7 separate regions of the Homo sapiens genome follow, and all the other regions are linked to region 4. Evidence: promoter capture Hi-C in human tissues and cell types (Jung and others, 2019). All regions are on one chromosome and are shown on one strand. The core of a region is centred on a gene start or on the middle of the fragment in contact, and the rest is flanking DNA. Distances in the headings are between cores, read along the strand shown.

Region 1 (3,038 bases), core at 223-2,722, 380 kb before region 4:
TTTAGCGGGCATCAAGTATGTTTTGGATCCTGTCCAAGGTTCTGAACATAATGTGCAAAACAAATGTAATCTCTATCCTTATGGAACTTGAAACCTAGCAAGAGAGAACAACATTAACTAGATAAATTTAAAATTATACATTGAAATAAATATAATACAGAAAAAAAGCAGGGCTCAAGGAGAATGATTCATAAGGGAGCTAACAGAGGCATTACCCTAGGGTAAATGAGAGAAACTAGAGATGTGGGAAGAAGTTTTCAGGCAAAGAAAACACCATGTGCAAAGGGCCTGAGGCAGGAGGCAACAGAGAAATTTAAGAGCCAATATATGGAGAGGTGGTGTGACGTAAGACTGGAAAGGCGGGCAGGGGCCTGACCTTGCAAGGATGCAAAGGCCACAATAAGAAGTTCAGTCTTCAAAACAAGTAAAAAAGAAGACAATAAACAGATTTATGGAAAGTATGACACGTATGTAATACATGTATGCGATGTTTTGATATTTTCATTGTAAAAGATGGCTCTGTTTGCATTGTTAATAAAAGATAGGAGAGAGCCTAGACTTAAAGCAGGAGGCCAGTTTTCAGGACTGTGGCAGTTGTCTCAATGACACATATGTAACAGTAACAGTAACAGTAATAGGAGTTAGACTGAAGTCATTAGAAAGGCACAAATATAATTCTAGGTAATGTTCATGAGAGGTGATATTATTTGTCTCTAAGGATTCATTGAAGAAGGTTTTCTAGAGGAGGGAGCAAACTAAGTTATGCCTTAGAGATGGGTGAGACTGCCATATATGGAAATATATGATGGAGAGGAATGTACAAGCAAAGGTATATAGAGAGGCAGATACCAGGTAGGACAGTCTATTTGTCTAAACAGCATCAAGGCTGTGCAAATGAGTTAACAAAGAAAAAGACAGAAGCCATATTGTACAGAACTTCCACCCATAAGCATGTTCCACAGTATTCAAAGATCTGCAGTCAACATGGAGCATTTTAAAACAAAGCCTGGGATGATTTCATAGAGCAGGATGTCCAAGGAACTACTCGTTTTAAATAAAGTGCTTGGCAGTTTGTGGCTAAGGATCCACTTACAATGTGGTGTCATTTTCCCTTCTAAGAATTGAAAATACTCCTTCCATGTATTCAAATCACTGCAAACTAGTTCTGAAGCCAATTATGGACCTCTTTCCTCTCTAACAGCACAAAGTCATGCATTAGCTCACTCTTCTGGGATGGAGGACATCAAGTAGGGATGAGAGCAAATAAATGTAGACAAGTGTTATTATTCACAATTTTATGCTCAAAACCAGCTACATGTGTGGCATATTAGTGAACCATGCCATCCCAATGTGTGGGCATTTATACTTGATGATTTCATGGGCTAAGAAGCCATACTCAGATCCCAAATATCTCAGTCATAGGGAACAGAGAAGACTTGGATATCAACTTAGTTCAACCTAAAAGATGATGTTAACCATTTAAAATAACCTGAATAAAAAGACATTTTAGCATAGGTATTTTGATGCAACAATCATATCAATATATAAAATTGTGTGTGTCTGTGAGTTTAGCTAAGTAACATATTCAAGAGACACAGACATCCCTTGTTTTCACCCATTTCTGAGCCTACGCAAAGAATTGGTGACACTCTGTGTGAAGTACTAAGGAATAAAGAAACATATTCTAAAAGTCCTAAAAAATTAAGTGGTTTTAAAATTTACAGTTTGATAATATGGCTCCAAAACAAAATATCATGATTCAAACCAAACGCTTCTCTTCCCCTCTCTTCTACAGCTTTGTAAAAATGTGGTCATCTATTCTCAGGAGATTTTCTATGATGGGGAACTCATTACCCTGCAATGACCCCCTTCCAATATTAAGAAAATATTATTACTACTTCTAACATTTATATAATTTATTGAACCATTACTAGGTCTTAGGTATTGAGCTAAAAGCTTTATGAGCATTATTTCACTTATTCTTAGCAATAACTTTATAAGTACTGCTATTATCCCCAATTTATAGATAATGTAACTGAAGCTTAAAATGTTTAAGTAACTAGCACAAGTCACACAGTCAACAGTAGAGGAAGACGTTTCCAAACCAAGGCTTCATCTTCTCCCATCCCTGACCATACTCATTACCCATATATCTGTCTAGTTTTGCTTCCTTAGGACTTCCAGAACTAGCCTGCTCTCTTCAAAATAAATAATAATTATCCTGGTCTCCTCTCTGGAAGCTTAGAGCATAGAAGAACCTTAGACTGGGGGCTCAGGTAGGCTTAAGTTTTCATACCACGTCATCTATGTGTTAATCTCGTAAAACCACCTAGCATCCCTGAGCCCCACTTTTCACGTACGCAAAATGAGGATACTAAATCCAGACTCTCAATTTTGCTATGAGAACTGAAGGAAGAACCCTGTGTAAAGTGCTTTGTGTGCTACTCAATAGATAACAGACATGCTCAATAATAGTAGGTTCCCTTCCTGTCTAGGTTCCTTCAACGCTTGTTATTGAATGAATGTCTTCCATCCTTTCCTTAAGAGGTCATTAGGTATCTACAGTGCTTTTTCAATCTTGTGGCTGCCAAATCCTCTCACTTGAATAACTTCCAATGTATAACAAGTCTTGGAACAAAACAGGGAATTCTAGGTGGACTGTTACCTGCCTACACTGGAGTGGAACCATCTCACCTACTTCACCTAGATAGCTTGTTCCTTTAAAAGCAGACTCTTCTATTGGCTGACCACATTGGGTGAATATATGCCCACTTACATTGGGAACCTCAGTAGATGCATAAACTAGCATCTCAGCTAAGATAGGTGTTTAATATTAACCAATAACTATTTCTCAATGAGGCTAACTGCATGGCAATTTTGATGAGGTCCAAACCTGTGTGATCAGGGTTAGTATGTTATAAACCTTAAGAATAGACCACTCACATTATATCCAATGCTAATGATAGTTACTGGAGTTATGCTATGAGGCAGCTCCATTAGTAGGGCATTGATAAAGTCAAAGGTGGAGGAAACCAAAG
Region 2 (2,928 bases), core at 349-2,848, 320 kb before region 4:
AGATGAGGCAAGTGATGCTCAGAAAAGAAAAATGATTTGCTAATAATGAGTGAAGGTGGACTTCGAAACCAGGTGGAACTAATGCCCAAGCTCAAATTTCTAGCCACTTATGATGCTGCCTCTCAGTTTAAGGCTCTGTAAAATTGAAAGATTAATATCTGCCTCCCCACACCCATCCTTCCTTAAGACGGTATGTTCTAATGAGTGGGAAAGTACAAAGGATGACAACATTTGATCTTTGTCCCAAAATGTGTCATCAGGCAAGGTCTGTCCCGGAGCCTTAGTGCACACTTCCCCAATCCCCAGCAACTAAAAGCAGGGCCTGGAGACATCAGGAGACTTCAGATTTCAGATTCTGCCAGATGCAGTTCTCCATTTAAAGGCTTAGCTTTGAAGTGGAATTGGCAGGGACCTCATGGAGATTTTGGAAGTGACTGGAGAGCAGAGGTCCCCAGAAGCCAGTAGGGCTTTTAAAATTGCCATTAAAATATTTTACTGTTAAAAAAAAAAAAAAGAAGAAGAAAGAACAAAGAAAAGAAGGGAGAAGGGCTGGGCATGATGGCTCACACCTGTAATCCCAGCACTTTGGGAGGCCAAGGCGGGCAGATTGCCTGAGTTCAGGAGTTCGAGACCAGCCTGGGCAACACGGTGAAACCCCGTCTCTACTAAAATACAAAAAATTAGCCGGGTGTGGCAGCATGTACGTGTAATCCCAGCTACTTGGAGGCTGAGGCAGGAGAATTGCTTGAACCCAGGAGGTGGAGGTTGCAGTGAGCCGAGATCAAGCCACTACACTCCAGCCTGGGTGACAGAGCGAGACTCCGTCTCCAAAAAAAAAAAAAAAAGGAGGGAGGAAGACTTTTGTTCATCTATACATAATTCTTGGCCAAAGAAAAAATGAAGGCATCTGATAAAGTCATTCTCTTATGTTCAGAAAACATCTGCCATACTCTCTGCTATGTCTGGAGCCACAGAGCAAAAAGGAGGGTCTATCCCTGTTAGGAGGCCACCCAAGACTCTTCCCACAGCCCCTTGGATGCCATAGCCACACTTTGAAACATTTCAGCAAAATTCTCACTCCCTTCCTTCCTTCCAATCTCCACTTTATCTTCCCTCCCATCCTAAACACATGACCTGTTATGGCCCTACCATGGTGAACAAATCTGGCTTACAGGAATCAGACTTTATTCTTTCCCTACTGGAGCAAGATAGACAGAGTGACAGAAAAGTCACCAGGAAATTCTAATGTAAGAAAAGCGAACACTTGCATAGTGCAGTATCTCTTCCAGGCACTATTCTAAAGCCTTTACATGGGTTGACTCATTTCATATTTACAAGAACCCTAGGAGATAGGTTACTACATTTATTCCCATTTCAGTTGGTGAGAAAATGAAGGCACGTAGAAATTAAATATTTTGTCCAGGGTCACAGCTTGTAAGTAGCAGAACCACGATTCAAATTCAGACAGTGGCGGGTAAATCTATTCCTTTTTTACAATGCTGGTTTATAATAAAATATGAACAAATACTTTGTTTAATATCCACAGCCATCCCTATAAGGACTGTATCATGAGTTTTGGTTTCATAGATGAATAACTGTCTCAGAGAGGTGATACGAGGTAGTAAGTGGGAGAAATGGGATTGAAATTTGGTCTGTCTACCTGCAAAGCTTGCTTCGTACCTAATACAACCAGGGAAAGTGTGTGTGTCTGTGCCTATGTGTGCACACACACATGCATGCATATGGATGTAGAGGGCTGGCAAATGCTTGATATGTTGACCACTAAGGATTAGCAGTTCTCTTAATTGACTCCAACACCTGGACCTGTTTTCTTGTAGGAACTCTAATCAGGCTTAGCAAGATCTTTGTGACTCTCCCATCTTTCCACATGTCCAGGCACAGTGACCACACCCCTATAACTACCATAAGGGTTTCCATAAAGGCTTTCCCTTCTGGTCAAGCCTCCATTTCCAAACTCTTCTGACCTTTATTCCCTTCTTGTAAGTACTAAAGTACCATGTGTTCAGAGTGAAAACTGAGGCTCAGAAACAATGTCTATAAACCAGATTCAATAGAAATATAATGCAAACCACATATGCCATTTTAAATGTTTCAGTAGCCCCATTAAAAGGGTAAACATAAAAGTTCAAATGAATTTCCAGAATATGTTGCATTTCACTCAGTATATTAAAATATTATCATGTTAACATGAAATTAACATAAAGTTATTACCGAAGTATTTTATATATTTTTCATAAGTCTTCAAAACCCAGTATGCATTTTGTGCTTACAGCACATCACAATACAGACAAGCCACATTTCAGGTGCTCACCATATTGGAGAACACAGTTCTAGACATATTTGTACAACAAATATTACTGAGCAAATTAAGGGCAAGGATCTGAGTACAAGATGAAGATGAATAAGCCACGACCTCCACTAAAATGTTCAATCTTAAAAAACAATTTGGATTTTTGACCTGGATGAAAAAATGGCACAGCTGGGATTCTGTTAAACAACAGTATCTATGGTCCCTACTCTCAAGGCACTTGGAGTCTAGTTAGTTTCTATATTTGTTTATCCATGAGCCAAGGGAAGTAATGGACTTCAGTAGAAATAAATTAAGTTATTGGAGTCAGACATGAGTTCTAGTTCTTTGATTCACTTATTAGCATATGGCCTTGGACAGGGCATTTGATCTCTCTGATCTCATCTTTAAAAGGGGTACAAGAACTCAGCTCAATGGTTATTATTGGGAAAAGAGTATGCTGCATGTAAACATTCTGCACAAAGACCAAGAAGTGAGAGTCAGGGCACATTCCTCAATTACTTGATGCTTGTCTGTGTTTAACAGAATGAAAGGGAGGAAGTGCTGCTGGTTTGAGGTGCCCCCTGACTCTCCTGCCTGCTGTGACATCCTGGGGAGGT
Region 3 (3,000 bases), core at 9-2,508, 500 kb before region 4:
TTAACTGTGAGTGTGGAGAAACCACTTTCTGTCTCAAACTTTTGGCTTCTTGCAACTGTACCATGCAACCCATAATATCTCTTTCCTAGGCTTAGAGTCAGATTCCAACTGGCAAGTGAGAAAAGCAAAGCAGTTGGCACCCAGTAGGTGCTCAGAAAACACAAGGTCCGCCTTCTTCATTCTCAGTGCTAAGAAAGTGGGAGCTCACCCAGCCTCTCTCTTTCTGACAAGAACTTCTCATGTTTAATTTATAGGCTGGTTTAGGTAGTTGAATTTTAAATAATTCATAGCCTTGCTGTTAATATTTGTAGTTGTTGAATTCCTTTAATAAAACATTTAGGGATTTCTTCCCCCTGAAGTGTATTTCATCCGGAGAATGATTTGTTTTCTGAAATCTGGGACTCGGCTGCCCTTTCGTTATTTTCTTTTCTGCATCTAATCCTGTTTATTGCTGTGGCAGAGGTAAGAGATGCAAGCTTGGGTTTTGCTTTGCATGGGTATGCAGGCAGGGATGTCAATTCATCTGTGGCTGGGGCTCGTGAGGTGGGTTCACTCTAAGTGGGGGTACCATGGCGGTTAAGAACATCAACTTCATACTGTATTAGGTTTGAACTCAGGCCTGCACTTCCTTCTTCCTTGCTGTGAGATCTCATCCAGGTAATTATTATTATTATTTTGAGATGGAGTCTCACTCTGTCGCCCAGGCTGGAGTGCAGTGGTGTGATCTCGGCTCGGCTCACGGCAACCTCTGCCTCCTGGGTTTAAGTGATTCTCCTGCCTCAGCCTCCCAGGTAGCTGGGACTCCTGGCATGTGCCACGACACATGGCTAATTTTTGCATCTTTAGTAGAAACAGAGTTTCGCCATATTGGGCAGGCTGGTTTTGAACTCCTGACCTCAAGTGATCCACCCACTTCAGCCTCCCAAACTGCTGGAACTACAGGCATGAGCAACCACACCTGGCCTTATCCAGGTAACTTAACATTTCTGAGCCTTTGGTTTCTCATATGCAAAATAAGAATGAGAACACACTCCTTTTACTTTCCCTGACATACCTCTGGATTTCAAAATTCTGCTTATATCCATGGAGGCTGCTTTTTCTAATCTCTCTCAGCCTCAACCCCCACTTAGTGCATTTGATGTGGCAAATAGACTCCCTTATTAATTCTGTTTTCTCATCACCTTGGCTTGAGCCATTTCCACAAGAACTCCAGGCTCTTTCCTGATTCCCATGAAACCCCGCTGGCTTTGTCATTTCTTAGTACCCCTGGGTTTGAGGGAAGGGGAAGGATGATTTGGGCATGCTGCAGCCTTTTCTAAAAGGAGGCTCCAGCTCCCTCTTGAAGATGCAGAAGGATCTGAAATGCAAGGCAAGCTTCACAGGTGCCAACTGTATTGTTCAAAGAATATACTCCCTTTTATAGCACTTATATTTCATTCTCTACTGCCAGAATGGAGACACATGCTGGGTTTCTGCATTCGTAATTGGGGAAGAACAGATGGGAGAGACGCAGTTGGAAGTAATACTGTCATTAAAGTAATCTATACTGCTCCTAACTCTCAGGCATGTGTGAGAAGGTGAGTGGAGCCACATGGACCAAGTTCCTTTCTGTTCAGTCCTCATGGAAATTATGGGGTGGCACATGACTTTGGAAGAATCAGAAAATTCACATTCACTTATGGTATTCCTCTGTGAGTATGTTTCTAGCTCCAGAGCCTCAAAGACAAGAAAAGGAACAGATTGATGATAGTTTCCTTAGGTAAGGAGTGGAGTAGGCATTCTAGATAGAGAGAACAGCATATGCAGAGGTGTGGAGCCTGGAAATAGGAAATGTTTTAAGTAATAGTAAGTAGAGAAGCTGAGCTGGTCTTGTTAGGGAAGCAGCAGAGGATATGGCTAGAAGAACTCGTGCTATGGGGACGAGGTTCTTGAATACCAGGAAAGAAGCTGAAGGAGAGTTGCTGTGGCATGGCAGAGCAAAGGCTGCAATCAGGTTCAGTGCAGGCTGTTACTGACTAGCTATGTGAACATGAGAAAGACACTTCTCTTTTCTGGGCCCCAGTGCTTCATCTGCAAAATGGGAATAGAATAAATGGTCTAAATAGAACTTCAGTGGCTTGAAGGACAACAGCTCTGAACTTCAGGAGAATGCATCTAATTCCTGAGTCTTTTGGTCATGTAAGTCAATTCTAAGCTGAGCATATCCCAGTCCTTGTTGACTGAGTAATAATAATAATAACAGCATTTGTAAAATAATAGAGTGACCCTTTGCTGAGGTCCTACTCTGTGCCAGACACTGTAAAGTGTTTTATTATTATTATTATTATTATTATTTATATATATTTTTTTTTACAATCTCAATCTCAGTCTTCATGAGGTGGTCCTGAGAAGCCCACTGTACAGATCTTCACATCTGAGGCTCAGATAGGGAAGAGGATAGGAATTTATGCCACCCAACCCTGGGTGGCAGGACCAAGAATTATGCCAGATGTCACTGGCAGCTGCCACAGCAGTAATGGCACCTCCTAAGGCAGAGCACTCTGGAGAGGTTTAATGTTCGCTGGCTAATTTAATCCCTCCCACTGCACCTCAAAGTGGATCCTGGGATCCCCATTTTGTAGATGAGCTAACTAAGGCTCTGTGAGAAGCAATCACCAGCTCAAAGTCATAAAACCAGTAAAGGCTGAAGCTGAGCTCTGGCCTCAGGTCTGCCTGGTATTCAACCTCCAGATGCTGCCTTAGGATACTTCAGCCTTCAAATTCACACAGGAGGAGCCCAGGATTAGTGGGCAGCTCCACAGCCCCTTCTCCCAAAATGTGAGATGTTCTTTGCAAACTTTTCTTAGGGATGCCTCATTTTGACAGAACACACTGCCCTCTCTTGCCCTGGGGAGCAGTCCCCATTAAGATATGTCAATGCCATTGAATACAAAGCAAATATCTGGGCTGATATCTTAACATGTCTGTAGCAGTGACTCTAGACTCCCTAAAAGACCAAAA
Region 4 (3,378 bases), core at 207-2,706:
TGAAGGGCCGACTCCTCCGGGATTCGCGCAGGGAACCAGCAGGCAGCAAGCTGCTGGCGAACTTTTCTGATTAACTTTTCCGTTGGAGCCCCCCACCCACACCCATCTCCTCTCCTCTCCTTTTTCTTGCCTTTAAGTAATTATTATTAGCCCAGGGAGTGAGCTGCAAGGACAAACCGGCTCTCTGCCTGGAGGTGGGTAGAAAGGGAAGGCGGTAACGGGGGTAGAGGGAGGCTCTAAACGTGGAGACCTCGGAGTCGGAATCCCAGTTCTCAGCAACCACTCAAGTCTCTCCAGCCCTATTTCACAGATGGCCAGAACTGAGGCTCAGAGAAGGGAAGCGACTTGGCCAAGGTCACTCAGCCCATGCGGAAGCCACGCTTTTGCGGGTTGAGCGATTCCACACGGAACTACTCCATTCCTACTCTCATGAAAATCCATCTGGAAGGGCAGAACCCGCAACTCCGAGGCGAGAGCGAGGGGGCGGTGACGGCGGGTGGCCAGTGACGGTACCCGGAGAAGTGGGAGGCTCGACCTGAAACTGGCTTAGGATCTGGGATGCTCCGGCCCCTAGCCAGAGCACCTTCAGTGAATGGGGTCTCCGGCTTCCGGGATGGATCAAGCAGAGCTCCAGGTCGGGACTGAGAGGCAGAGGGGCAGGTTCCCACTGCGGGAGGGTTGGCACGCCCCCAGGCTCCCGCCGCGCGCTCTCCAGGACCTCCTCCCACATGCTCGTTTCCAACCACCTGTGCGACCTCTGGGCCCCTCCTCTACCCTCTGCCAACCCCACTCGGGGCAGCCCCGGGCAGGGATCCCCAGGGCGCCCCCACCCGTCCGGCATGACGCAGGGGCTCGGGGTTCCTTGGGATCTAGCGCGTGCCGGCGCCCAGCCTTACCCAGGGTGAAGAAGGGCAGCTCGGTGTTGTCCAGGTCGTCCTGCACCGCGATGCGCCCCGGCAGCTCGTTACGCACAAAGAGCAGGAGGCGCGACTCGGCGGCGGTGCCGGCAGAGCCAGGAGAGCCCGGGGACGCGGCGGCGGCGGCGGCTCCGGCCCCGGTCCCAGCCCCGGCCCCGGCGCGGGCGCCGCTCCAGCCGATGTCGCTCTCCCGCAGGGCGGGCAGTGTGGACACCGTGACGGTCTTCAGCCGGCACGGGCTGTCGGGCTCCCGCGAGGCAGCGGCGGTGGCGCCGGCCAGCAGCGGCGGCGGCGGCAGCAGGAGCAGGAACAGCAGCAGCAGCGGCAGCAGTGGCGGCGGCCCCGGGTGGAAGCAGAGCCTCGGCCGCCCCCGGAGCCCCGAGCCGGGGCCGGGGCTGAGCCGGGCGCCGGCGGCGGCCATGGCGGGAGGGGCTGCGGTGCTGCGGGCGGCGGCGGCGGTGGCGGCGGTGGCGAAGGAGGAAGAGGAGGCAGCTGCGGAGACGGCGGACGCCGAAGCGAACCAGGACGCCCGAGCTAAGGAGCGGAGAGAGCCGCTCGCCAGCAGCCCCCAGCTCCGGGCTCCGCCTCCCGATCGGCCCTGGACCGCCCCCCCGCGCCGCCTCCCGGGGCCCAGCCGCCCGTCCCCGATCTCCGGCTCCCCCCGCAGACCCCGAGCGTTTCGGAGGCTCCGCCCGGCCTCGTGCAAGTCCCAGTGGCTCCCTCCCCTTTCCCAAGATCCCCCAATTCCGCCCTCACAGCATTCTTTAGCCACAACACCCCTCCCTAAACTCCCCAAATTCCTAATACTTAGGGCCCCCTCGGGCCCCCCCAAGCCCCCCTGACTCAACCCAGTTCTCCTGGCTTCACCCCACCTTCGGCTCAACCCAGAGGCTGCACCTGGGGGCGCGCCTTGGCCCAGCCTTGCTCAAGGCCCCGCCTTCTTGGGGATAGGGAGCCCCCTGGATAGCCAAGACTTAACTTTGTCTCCCCTCAGGCCCAAGAACAAGTCCTTTCTCCAATCTCCTACCCTTTTCTAGTCTCTGAAATAACTTCCTGTAGCCTCAGAGCCCCCTTCCCACCCACTTGGCCACAACTCCTGCATTCATTCTCCCACTGCCCGCAAACCTTCCTCTCCCCTCCATCCAGGCCTTGTGCTAGCACTAATTGCTAATGGACAGAGGGGCGTCGAACTCCACCGTCTAACGCCGACCCCACAACTGACTGAAGCCGGGCTGTTCTGGCCCCCTAGCTGCCGCCCTGCAAGCCAGCCCACTCACGCTTTTTTATTTTGGATCCCTGCTCCCAGCTTGGAGCAGCTCTACTTGGCTGCTTCTGCTCTCTGTGTGAAATTCCTGAAAAGGGTGTGAGGTAGAGACCTACTATTCTGTCTGTCCTTGGCTCCCGGGTCTTTTAGATCCTCTGCCCAAGTCCCAGAGAACGGGAGTGCTCACCAATTCTTCACCTGCAGTCTTTCTAGACTCAAGTTGAGCTAGGTCCTCAGATTCAGCACCCTTTGGTCTTGGGCTGACTCTGTCTCTGACCCACATACCTGAGACCCTCCAGGGAGCGGACACCTCTGCATGGGTCAAGTGCCGTGCAGCCCCTTCCCCACTCCCCTACTTTTCTTCATCTTCCCTGTCTCTGTTTTCTGTTTCATCTCTCCATTCATTTCCTTCCTTCTCATCTTGACTTTAATCTTACAAATGCTTCTTTCCTATAATTTGTGAGCAACTTCTCATCTCTGTCTAGCTTACCCATCTGCACCTTTTGTGCTGTCTCTATGCATTCACTTTTCTCTTAGCTCTTCCCTCTTCTGTCTCATTCCCCTTTTCTATCTTTAACCCTTCATATAAATTGCTTTTCTCCTCTCTCATCATATATTTTTTAATAACGTTGGATAAAGGCAGAGCACTGAAAATAAGGAAAAAAGCAAAAGCTGTTTTGCGACCTTGGACTTAATGTGTTTAAAGCATTCTCCAAATGCTAGACATGTACGTATGTTAGCTTTTTTACATGACCATAATCCAAAAAGATGGATATTATGATTCCCATTTTCCATGTGAGGAAACTGAGATCAGGTGGTCAGGGAGGTGAAGGGATTTTCCAAGGTCGTATAGCAAATGAGCTGAAGAGCTGAGGTTTGAACAGTAGGCTTCAAGCCTTGACTGTTTCCCTTAAATTACACTGTCCTCAGTGACCTTGGAAAACCCCACCCATCAAAGATGCTGTAAAAGGTAAATCTGCATAAGCACAGTTGGATCTACTTCCCTGTGAGGTTTGTAAGGTATACTTCTCCTGTCTCAGTTTACTAATCTGTGAACCCAAAGGATGTGTGGAGGTTGGGGTGGAATCTGGCCTTTCAAGTCCTCTAATTCTAAATGGTCTCCTGCCTCTCTGATGCCTGCTCTAGTTCATTTACTCCTCCAAAATATGTCACCCTGCCTCCCTCAGTCTCTCCTTT
Region 5 (3,175 bases), core at 529-3,028, 460 kb before region 4:
TATGTAAGTACCCTCCCTCCTGGCCATAGTACATGCCAGATCTGGCCAGTCATAGCACCTGATTCCCCTTTGCAGTAAGTGTCCTTGGCTGGGACAAAACAAATCCTTCCTTGGAATTTTATACAACATATGGAGGAAGATAGATTCTTTCTGTTTCCTTTATGTTAAAGATGTAAGAATGTGTCTCTACAGCTCCTGGTGCCCATGCCCCATACCTATGGAAGACACAGAAACAATGTGGTCAAGACAGAGATGGGAACTGAGATAAGACAGAAAGAGATAGAGAGAACTAGGCCATATGTGATGGCTCACGCCTGTAGCCCCAGCACTTTGGGAGGCTGAGGTGGGTGGATCACCTGAGGTCTGGAGTTTGAGACCACCCTGACCAACATGGAGAAACCCTGTCTCTACTAAAAATACAAAATTAGCTTGGCATGGTGGCGCACGCCTGTAATCCCAGCTACTTGGGAGGCTGAGGCAGGAGAACAGCTTGAACCTGGGAGGCAGAGGTTGCAGTGAGCCAAGATCACGCCACTGCACTCCAGCCTGGGCAACAAGAGTGAAACTCTGTCTCAAAAAAAAAAAAAAAAAAAAAAAAAAAAAAGATCTGTGGTTGTAGATACTGCCATGTATGAGCCCATCTCTCACACAGCATCATCACCAATCATGTGGAACAGTTGGTTCCCATTTATAGTTAAGTCAGTTAGGTTTGGTTTTGGCATAGACTGTGAATAGAGTCTACAAAGATAAAGGAGAGGGAAGGTATGATCAGTAGAACAAGGTCCTTCAATAAACTGAAGTGCATGAGATCAGGGTCAGGCAGAGAGATTTCCCTTAGATAGGAAGCAAGCCACACTCTAGAGATGAGTAGGAGAGGGTGGTATTGGTATTTGGTGGCAGAAGCTATGGGAGGCACCATGGTTAAGATCAGTAGGGGATCTGTAAGCATGCAATCACCAGCAAGTTATCTATGATCTCACTTTTCTCTCTTCCACTCAAGGTAACATTCCCCAAACACAAGTGGGAGATGTTATTTTACTTCTAAGGTCATATCCATTGCATTTTAAAAAATCCCTCCAAAAGACAAAATATTTTGAAACTTGAGTAATTAGACTATTATTAGCACTACATTTCTGACAACTTACCTAACCCCATAGTTTCAAATACTAAAAATCAGAGTAACTTGAGTAATGTGACTATTTTTGTTGTTACATTTCTTGGGACTTACCCAATAACTCATGTGGTCAAAGCCTGTGGGTTGTGCCACTATAGCTGAGAGCAACTGTATTGACTAAAATCACAATAATATGTAAGCTTTTCCATTACTTGATTATAACTGCATTACTGTATTTGTAACTGCCTTTTAGTTTATTCTTAATGCTAGTGAGCACTTGACATGATTTGAGAGTTGCAGAAAATAGCCCAACCACCACCACGACTTTATGAATAGTAATGCATGGGGTATGTCTGACTACTTACTCTAGACCTACCATAGACATGACTAATCAATTCTGGCATTCATTCCTATTGGGCTCGCATGCAGCCACAGAATCCTTCTCGGCCTTATGCTCCAGAGAGTATAAGGCTGGCCTCAAAGATGCAATGCATTTGCTATTGTTGATTGGCTTAGAAGCTCTTGGGGTTCATTCCTGTTCATTTCCTGGTGAAGAAGAAATGGCCTCCAGGATCTGGCAAGAATAAGGGCCCTGGAGCAGCCTTGAGCATCTGGCTCTCAATTTCCGCATTCTTTCTCTCCCTTTAAGAAGAGGTGAGATGTGATGAGAGGCACAGGCTGTGAGGCCTCAGGCTTTTATCTCTGGCAATGACATGGGCAGCGTGACATGCAGGGTAATGAATTGCCGTCTTTGCAGAAATGAATAAGTTGTGGTCAGTGATGAAATGATCAATTTGCTCCATCATGTTAAGCTGCCCATTCATCATCCACACCTGCTGTCAGGAGCCCAGGGCCGCTGATATTGGCCTCAAGCCTCTTCCTCAGCTAGCCGAGCAATCGCCGTTGGAGCTGCCTCCAAGCTCAAGGCTGCCTTTGATTACAGCCTTTGAGGAGGGGCCCAATTACTTACTGCTCAGCCACCGGTGACTCTGAAAACAAGGGACATTTGTGCTGACCTGGGCTGTTGACATGTAGCCTAACAAAATGTGAAAGACCCTCTGACAGGGATCCAGGTGGCCCGTCTTATTGTCCCACAGTGCGACCTTGGGCCAGGCCATGTCATTTCTGTTCCTTAGCTTCTCTATTATAAAAGGAAGGGGTGGAGGAGACTCCCAGTTCTCCATCTCCGACCCAATAGATCTGCAAATGTCTGCTATGGAAAGGACAGTTTGTGATTTTAACTCCCCCACCCACTGAGGCAAATAACAGCATTTATTAGCTGAGATTGTTTGGCAGCAGTGAATCATTCTTTGGCTTAACTGAAAATAAGGTGTAATTATCACATTTTACTGATAAGGAAACTGAGGCCTAACAAGGTTAAGTGGGGTGCCCAAAGCCACAAAGAGAGGTTGTGTTATAGTTACAATTGAATCTGTATCTGTTTGACTTCTAAACCCTTGCTTTTCCCACTGCAAATTGTTTTGGCTAGAGAGCAGGCTATTAAGACATTCTAGCCAAGCCAATTTCCTGAGAGTTCTGCAGGTACCAGGTGTTGCTGGAGCCCAGCATCTGCTCAGAGGAAGGCAGAGAGACCCAGAGGAACCCAGAATGAGACACTCATTTTTGCATCCTCAGTTTCCAAGTTAATTTTCTAGCTCCTGGTTAGGACCCGAATTACAGAGACCAGGCAGCTGTCCAACAAGAATGCTGACAGGTTTCATTGTCCTCTAGGGTAGCTGCTGCCTAAAGAATATTTGATTTTTTGTTTTTTTAACAACAACAAAAAAGATGGGTTCCCTGTATTGAGCATCTCCTGAGTGCAAAGCCCTGCACTATGTGCTCAACACTTGATCCTTGATGGTTTAAAGCCTCAACAGTGTGATCAGGTTAGTTGCTCACATTCTTGGATAGAAAAACTGAAACTTAGAGCAGATAAGAGACTTGTCCAAGGTCATTTAGCTCATTAGTGGCAGAGCTGTAGCTCAATCTGTATCCATCAGTCATCTGTCCATCAAGTCCAGTGGAGTAGAAGGGGTCACACAATGGGCTCAGAGACAGAGA
Region 6 (3,356 bases), core at 328-2,827, 290 kb before region 4:
GTTTTTTTCTTTTAAGTTAAATTGCACAAAAGTTTACAACAAAATCATAAAACCCAGTTTACACAGATGGCATATTCTTAATAATAATTAGGTCAGAAAATGAATATGAATCCCACCAGAGTAATTAGGATATTCAGTAAAGGACCCTTTTTGTTGCTGCCTTATTTCTGTCAAGTTTCAGTCTAAGCTCTGAGGCCTATGTATGTGCAGACATCCCACACAGGTAATGTGAATGCAAGTCTTGGAGGTATGTGCTGCTAACAGACACAGCTACAATGTAGCAGAAGGTACAGGAGAACTGGAAGCAGTCAGGTCTAAATTTACCTCCAAGCTCCTGGCTGTGCAAGTTTGGGCAACTTACTTCATGTCTCTGAACATCCATTTCTTTTACAAAGTAAGGGTTAGAGAAAGGTTGTTACAGTAATACATGTGAAACTCATTACTCTTAAAAGAGTAAAGAGCACAAAAGAAATGGCCAATAATTGTGGTTTCCTATCAGATATATGTCCCAAATTAGAAAGTAGAATAAACAAAACCATGACACTAGCTTTGAGATTCATTCCTCCTATAGTTTCATCTTTGTTGGAGGAATTAAAGAGAGTATTTCCAGCCAAGGCAAAGGAGTAGGAAGCCTAACTGGTTTCACTGCAGACTTGGTGGACAACTAGAATGGTTAGCACCAAAGTAATTTACTCCAGTGAACGTTTAATAATCTGTAATTATTATACTTGAATGCTTGAGTGAGTGATTGATTGACTGTCTGCTTCTTTCTCCAAATCTTGAGTTACATAGAAGTGAGGACCTCATATGTCTAGATTTCCATTGCAGTCTCAGGGCTGAGCATAGTGTCTTACACTGAGTAGACATTCAGCTGAAAGAATAATGAAAGTGAGGTTGGAGACCCTGGGTAGGTAGTTAAGCTTAGACAGAAGGAATAGGCAGGGCTAGAATTGGGGAAATGGGAATTAGTCACAGCAGCCCTAAAGAGCAGTTTGGAAAGGTATCATCCTACGGCAGGATAATTGCTCTGACTTGGACTTGTATAGCTCTGCTGGGACCACAGATGCTGATCTAAGAATGAGGCCAAAGAGTCTATCAGAGATCTTAGCCATCCTGGGTTGCTGTAGTTATTGGTATAATTACCTACTCTTGAATTCTCTAGATCTTGTGGAGTTATTTCTATGTAGTTCTGCCTGAACGCAAGATGATTTCTTTGGGACCCTTCTCCATGTTACAATCTGTGAAGGTTGCTCCGCAACACTGCACTGAAAGGGAGCTCACCAGCGTTTCTCGGCTAACACCCTCGGCAGGTAGCAAGGCTGATACAGATACAGGAAGGGGTCAGGTGTTACAGCTGCTCCCTGCAAATCTTTATAACTAGATCACACATAGGTAATTTGGAGAAGGCTCTTTCTCTCTACGGAAAATACCCTGACAAAAGCTTTATTTCCATGGTTTTGTAATGGCCCAATGGGTTCATCTTGTCCATTGCCTAGAAAAGCTAATGCACTGAGAACAGCAGATTTTTACAATAGAGAGTTTAATTATTGCACAGCCAGCTAAATGGAAGACTGGGGTTTCATTACTCAAATTACAGTCTCCCTGTGATTTCAGAAGTTAGGGTTTTTTTTTTGTTTTGGTTTTTTTTTTTTTTTTTTTTTTTTTTGAGACAGAGTCTCACTCTGTTGCCCAGGCTGGAGTGCAGTGGCACGATCTTGGCTCACTGCAAGCTCCACCTCCCGGGTTCACGCCATTCTCCTGCTTCAGCCTCCCCAGTATCTGGGACTACACGTGCCCGCCACCACGCCCACCTAATTTTTTGTATTTTTAGTAGAGATGGGGTTTCACTGTTTTAGCCAGGATGGTCTCCATCTCCTGACCTCGTGATCCACCCGCCTCGGCCTCCCAAAGTGCTGGGATTACAGGCGTGAGCCACCGCTCCCGGCCGGGTTTTTTAAAGATAGTTTGGTGAACAGGGAGTTAGGGAATAAGAAACACGGATTGGTTTGGTCAGGGAAGAAATCATAGGGAGTGAAAGCTGTCTTCTTGCACTGAGTCAGTTCCTGGGTGGGGGCTACAAGACCAGATAAGCCAGTTTACTGGTCTGTGTGGCAACAGTTAGTCCATCAGAAATCAGGGTCTGACATTCTGGCCAACATGGTGAAACCCTGTCTCTACTAAAAGTACAAAAAATAGCTGGGCATGCTGGTGTGTGCCTGTAGTCCCAGCTACTCAGGAGGCTGAGGCAGGAGAATTGCTTGAACCCGGGAGGTGGAGGTTGCAGTGGGCCAGATCCCATCACTGCACTCCAGCCTGGTGACAGAGTGAGACACTGTCTCAAAAAAAAAAAAAAAAAAAAAAAAAAAAAGAAATCAAGGTCTTAAAAATACTTCAAACACTAATCTTAGGTTTTATGACAGCGATGTTATCTATAAGGGCAATTGGGGAGGTTAGGAATCTTGTGGCCTCTGACTGCATGACACCAGAGCCATAATTTCTAATCTTGTGGCTAATGTGTTAATTTTACAAAGGAGGTCTGATCCCCAGGCAAGGAGTGGGTTTGTATCAGAAAGGGGTTGATGCCATCTTTGTTTCAAAGTTAAACTATAAACTAAACTCCTCCATAGTTAGCTTGGCCTATGCCTAGGGTTGAACAAGGGCAGCATATTAGTCCATTTTCAGACTGCTGATAAAGACATACCTGAGACTGGGCAATTTACAAAAGAAAGAGGTTTAATTGAACTTACAGTTCCAGTTGGTGTAGAAGCCTCACAATCATGGCGGAAGGCAAGGAGGAGCAAGTCCCATCTTACATGGATGGCAGCAGGCAAAGAGAGAATGAGGAAGATGCAAAAGCGGAAACCCCTGATAAAACTATCAGATCTCATGAGACTTATTCGCTCCCATGAGAACAGTATGGGGGAAACTGCCCCCATGATTCATTTATCTCCCACCAGGTCCTTCCTACAACATGTGGAAATCACGGGAGTACAATTCAAGATGATATTTGGGTGGGCACACAGAGCCAAAACGTATCAGGCAGCTTGAAGGTTATAAGCAACATGGAATTGGTTAGGTCAGATTTCTTTCATTGTCATAATTTTTGTAAAGGTAATTTCAATTTGAAGCAGAAATATGAGATATATGGATTGAAGGCAAATACCACTTCTTTGCATTGACAGTGACCATTTTTCTAGAAATGTTCTCCTTAACCACAACCTCTGCCATACCCACTTCCTCCCTCCGTTCCTCAAAAAACAAACAAAAACATAAAATCTGCACATGAATTGCTTCTCCCTATCTCCACCCCTTGATGTAAAATAAACGACTTTCAGACAGATAAAAATTAAACTACA
Region 7 (3,382 bases), core at 768-3,267, 370 kb before region 4:
CTATCTTTGTCATGAACTAATCTCTTGTGCTGTCTGACTACGGCACTCTCAAATCTATGGTATCCTTTAAATGATATGTTATTTCCCCAATATCTTATCATCTATAGATTTGTCCTTAATAAGATCTAGGCAAGTGTTCATCCACTCTTATTTTCATACTTCCAGAGAAAGAAAACTCAACCCCTACTAAGCATCAGTTCTATTCTCAGATAGTTTAATGTCTAAACAGCCTTTGAATCTCACTCTATGAGTGAACTTCTGCTGTCCAAATTAAATAGGATATATTTAATATCTCCTTCCCAGGGCAGCTATTTTGTTAAAGGTGGAAATTAGGTTGCCTTGAGCTTTCTTTCTTCAAACCAAACACTAATAACTTTATTTTGTTTCTCTAAAGTCATATTTTGAGTCCTTTTATTGTACTTTGTATAGATTTGTTTTGCTTAAGATTACTTTCTTAGTAAAGGATGCCATAATAATAATTGTTATTATTATTATCATCATCATCACTACCACTATCACTAGTAACATAGCCACTAACTTAGGTGCCAGACAATAGAACTAAATTTTTGCATGCAGTATCTCATCTAATCTTTACAGAAACTTCATGATATTGTTTCTACTATCACTCACATTTTTCGCTATGAGGAAACTGAGGCCATCACTTGCCAAAGAACATGCAGCTTAAAGGTAATAGGGCTGAAATGAAAAACCATTTGATGTCAGGGTCCAAGCTCTTAACCATCATCCTTCACAATATCTCTATCAACCTGCTAGATGTAGCCTGGGCAGAGCAGAAGCAACAAATTTAACTGCTGAGCTGCTATCCGACTTTAGCTTGCCCTGTGGACCTGTGATGACTCTAGGTGAATTTGTGGTGGCCTCATTGTCCCACCTGATACCGACCACATGTCTTCAAGAGAACCTCTCCCCATCACAAGGACAAAGTTTAAAATGATGGAAGAAAATGAGAAGGGCTGTCGCTCCTCCTTTCTCAGCCCCAGAAAATACTATGGGCCTGAAGCAGCTCACTGTGCTACTTGGAGCCAAATGATTATTGACAAAGCCACTGGGGAACACCTTTGGCTAGCTCTGGTCCTGGGACAAAGACCGTTTCTATAGTGCAGGCCTAGATTGTGGCTGCCTGGTGAAGTTAAAGCCACTGGCAGCTGACATGGAATGGGGCTACAAACGGCTGGCTATTTGAATTTCTCTGTGGCAACTGCAGGTAGCTGGGCTTGCAAGTGCAAAGGTCACTACAAGGTGTTGACAATGGTGTTAGAGATGAAGATGATAGAGATGGTACCGTATTATTTTAGCTTTTATTAGGTTACAGATTATTCTCAAATATCTCATTACCTCTTCAAAATCCTATGTAGTTGGCATTGCTGTTATCCCCAATAGACAAATGAGAAGTGACAGTCTTAAAGGTGAACTCATGTTCAAACAACAGAAGAATAATGGGCCTATAAGCCATGTCTCCTGACACACAGCTGAGTGATCTTTTCATGTCACTATGTTGCTAGTGTGCAGCCTAAGTCCCACTAGCTGGATATGAAAACAGAAATAGAATCTGTGCGCTCTGATTCTTCATCCATTGCTTTTTTTTTTTTTTTTTGAGACGGAGTCTTGCTCTGTTGCCCTGGCTGGAGTGGAGTGCAATGGTGCAATCTCAGCACACTGCAACCTCTACCTCCCAGGCTCAAGTGATTCTCCTCCCTCAGCCTCCTGAGTAGCTGGGATTATAGGCATGCGCCACTGTGCACAGTTAATTTTTATATTTTTAGTAGAGGCAGAGTTTCACCATGTTGCACAGGATGGTTATTGCTCTTATAAATGTATCCAAATGCCTCAAAGAGCTAGTGTAGTATTTCCCACAAAACCAGATGTATCTTGAAAAGAAAATATTTCTATGTTCACAAAATTTTGAGACATGCTATATTCTGCATGTCCCTCTTAAAGCACCCAAGTATATATCTGGTATTAAAATCCCTAAAAGTCTTTGCATTACATTCTGTTTAACAGGATTCAGCCGAATGTTTCCCTAAAGTATTAAGACATTGCAGAACCACCATTCTGTGGAACAAGGTACGGAAAAAACGATCTAGTTTAATAATTTATACAAAGGTTGTAAATAATATTAGCAGAGCCCAATAATCAACTGGTGCCCTTATGCCAGGCACTGTGTTAAAGATTGTATGTACATTATCCTATTTAAACTTCTCAACTACCTTGTAAGGCAGGGGTTACCCTTCATTTACAAATAGGAAAACCAGATTTAACTGGTCACTGGGAAGAGGAAGAGGAAGGTTTTCATGGTCAGTCTGGTCTGAAACCAATGTCTGTATCCTTCTTCTTCCCAAGTGTTAGAAGAAAATAGAATTTTAAAGTCACAGAGAATACATGCAAGAATGAAAAAGGTAGGCACAACAGATCAGTTCAGGAGGCTAAAGACTATTCAACGTATATTTAGCAGGCTGACGAAATGCATTAGTGGAAGGAAAAAGATGCTGTACTCAATAGATTAAATTGCAGTGTGTAGATGAGAAATAGTAGAGAAGATAATTCAAAGATCTAAAGCTCTAGAATGGCTCAGAAATAAATGAGAAAGAAGGAGAAAGGAAAGGTGGTGGGGGGTTTCTGATTCATAGGTGACTATCAATCGACTGGTGCTGACTTACCCAAAATGTTAATTTTTAAGATACTGTTGTCTGATACCCATATTAGCCCTGTTAGTCTACAGGCTGTTTAGATGCACCACCACATTCAGCCCACACCACCGATGAATTGGAGGGTGGCAAAGAAGAGCTAAGGCCAAGCAGTGAGTGCTGAGGAACAGAGCAAAAGAGCAGCCACAGTTTCCATGGCTACCAAGGACGATCAGGACCAGTCACCTCCCATTTCCATGAAAGGTTCATTTCTAGCTCCTTTGAAAGTCCCTGTTCCATTATCTTGGAAGATGTCAGTGGACTTTGGCCCACACTTTGTGAAAATAGGAGCAGGAGAATAACATTGATTGTGTATTTAGTATTTACTAGGCCTCCTGTGATGGCCTAGTAAATACTGAATACACAACCAACGTTATTCCCCTACTCCTGCTTCCTCCCCTGCTCCCAGCTTCCATGACAATGTTCCTTTACCTACAGAACTTCCTTTATCCCAAAAGCCCACCGTAAGCACCAGGCAAAGCTGTCCTTACTTGACATTGGGGGAAATGGAAGATCAAAGGGTTTAATTGACTAGTAAGGAACAGAGCTAGAATATGAACAGAGCTAGAATATGAACCGAGACCTATTGATACTCAAAGTTCTTTAAAAGCTTCCTCAGCTGATCCTGACCCTGTGAATGTATGGTGTCTAATGGTGGTCACACTGCTTCTAAAAAT

The links. The method cuts DNA at HindIII sites, captures the fragments that hold promoters and counts their contacts. A contact is called where the count stands out against the background at its distance.
Region 1: a contact is called between a fragment that was not itself captured here and the fragment with the promoter of ASTN2 in region 4, in 1 of the 25 tissues and cell types used here (thymus).
Region 2: a contact is called between a fragment that was not itself captured here and the fragment with the promoter of ASTN2 in region 4, in 4 of the 25 tissues and cell types used here (H1 embryonic stem cells, dorsolateral prefrontal cortex, hippocampus and 1 more).
Region 3: a contact is called between a fragment that was not itself captured here and the fragment with the promoter of ASTN2 in region 4, in 2 of the 25 tissues and cell types used here (H1 embryonic stem cells and dorsolateral prefrontal cortex).
Region 5: a fragment that was not itself captured here is called in contact with the fragment with the promoter of ASTN2 in region 4 in 5 of the 25 tissues and cell types used here (dorsolateral prefrontal cortex, liver, mesendoderm cells and 2 more).
Region 6: a contact is called between a fragment that was not itself captured here and the fragment with the promoter of ASTN2 in region 4, in 6 of the 25 tissues and cell types used here (H1 embryonic stem cells, bladder, dorsolateral prefrontal cortex and 3 more).
Region 7: a contact is called between a fragment that was not itself captured here and the fragment with the promoter of ASTN2 in region 4, in 1 of the 25 tissues and cell types used here (dorsolateral prefrontal cortex).

Annotation. Positions count from the first base shown.
Region 1 is chr9:117,031,456-117,034,493 of GRCh38, forward strand. The region is part of intron 6 of ASTN2 (astrotactin 2); the gene reads right to left. Among named protein-coding and RNA genes, the nearest start is that of SNORA70C, 150 kb to the right of the region's middle. The HindIII fragment of the contact is 4,155 bases long and covers 1-3,038 here.
Region 2 is chr9:117,098,279-117,101,206 of GRCh38, forward strand. The region is part of intron 4 of ASTN2 (astrotactin 2); the gene reads right to left. Among named protein-coding and RNA genes, the nearest start is that of SNORA70C, 81 kb to the right of the region's middle. The HindIII fragment of the contact is 4,992 bases long and covers 1-2,928 here.
Region 3 is chr9:116,912,240-116,915,239 of GRCh38, forward strand. The region is part of intron 10 of ASTN2 (astrotactin 2); the gene reads right to left. Among named protein-coding and RNA genes, the nearest start is that of TRIM32, 230 kb to the left of the region's middle. The HindIII fragment of the contact is 6,421 bases long and covers 1-3,000 here.
Region 4 is chr9:117,413,601-117,416,978 of GRCh38, forward strand. ASTN2 (astrotactin 2) reads right to left here and starts at 1,457. Exons shown (of 23, transcript NM_001365068.1): 1 at 897-1,457. The coding sequence starts at 1,338. The HindIII fragment of the contact is 9,596 bases long and covers 1-3,378 here.
Region 5 is chr9:116,950,764-116,953,938 of GRCh38, forward strand. The region is part of intron 10 of ASTN2 (astrotactin 2); the gene reads right to left. Among named protein-coding and RNA genes, the nearest start is that of SNORA70C, 230 kb to the right of the region's middle. The HindIII fragment of the contact is 6,986 bases long and covers 1-3,175 here.
Region 6 is chr9:117,126,033-117,129,388 of GRCh38, forward strand. The region is part of intron 4 of ASTN2 (astrotactin 2); the gene reads right to left. Among named protein-coding and RNA genes, the nearest start is that of SNORA70C, 53 kb to the right of the region's middle. The HindIII fragment of the contact is 3,091 bases long and covers 33-3,123 here.
Region 7 is chr9:117,047,366-117,050,747 of GRCh38, forward strand. All of the region lies in intron 5 of ASTN2 (astrotactin 2), which reads right to left. Among named protein-coding and RNA genes, the nearest start is that of SNORA70C, 130 kb to the right of the region's middle. The HindIII fragment of the contact is 3,251 bases long and covers 393-3,382 here.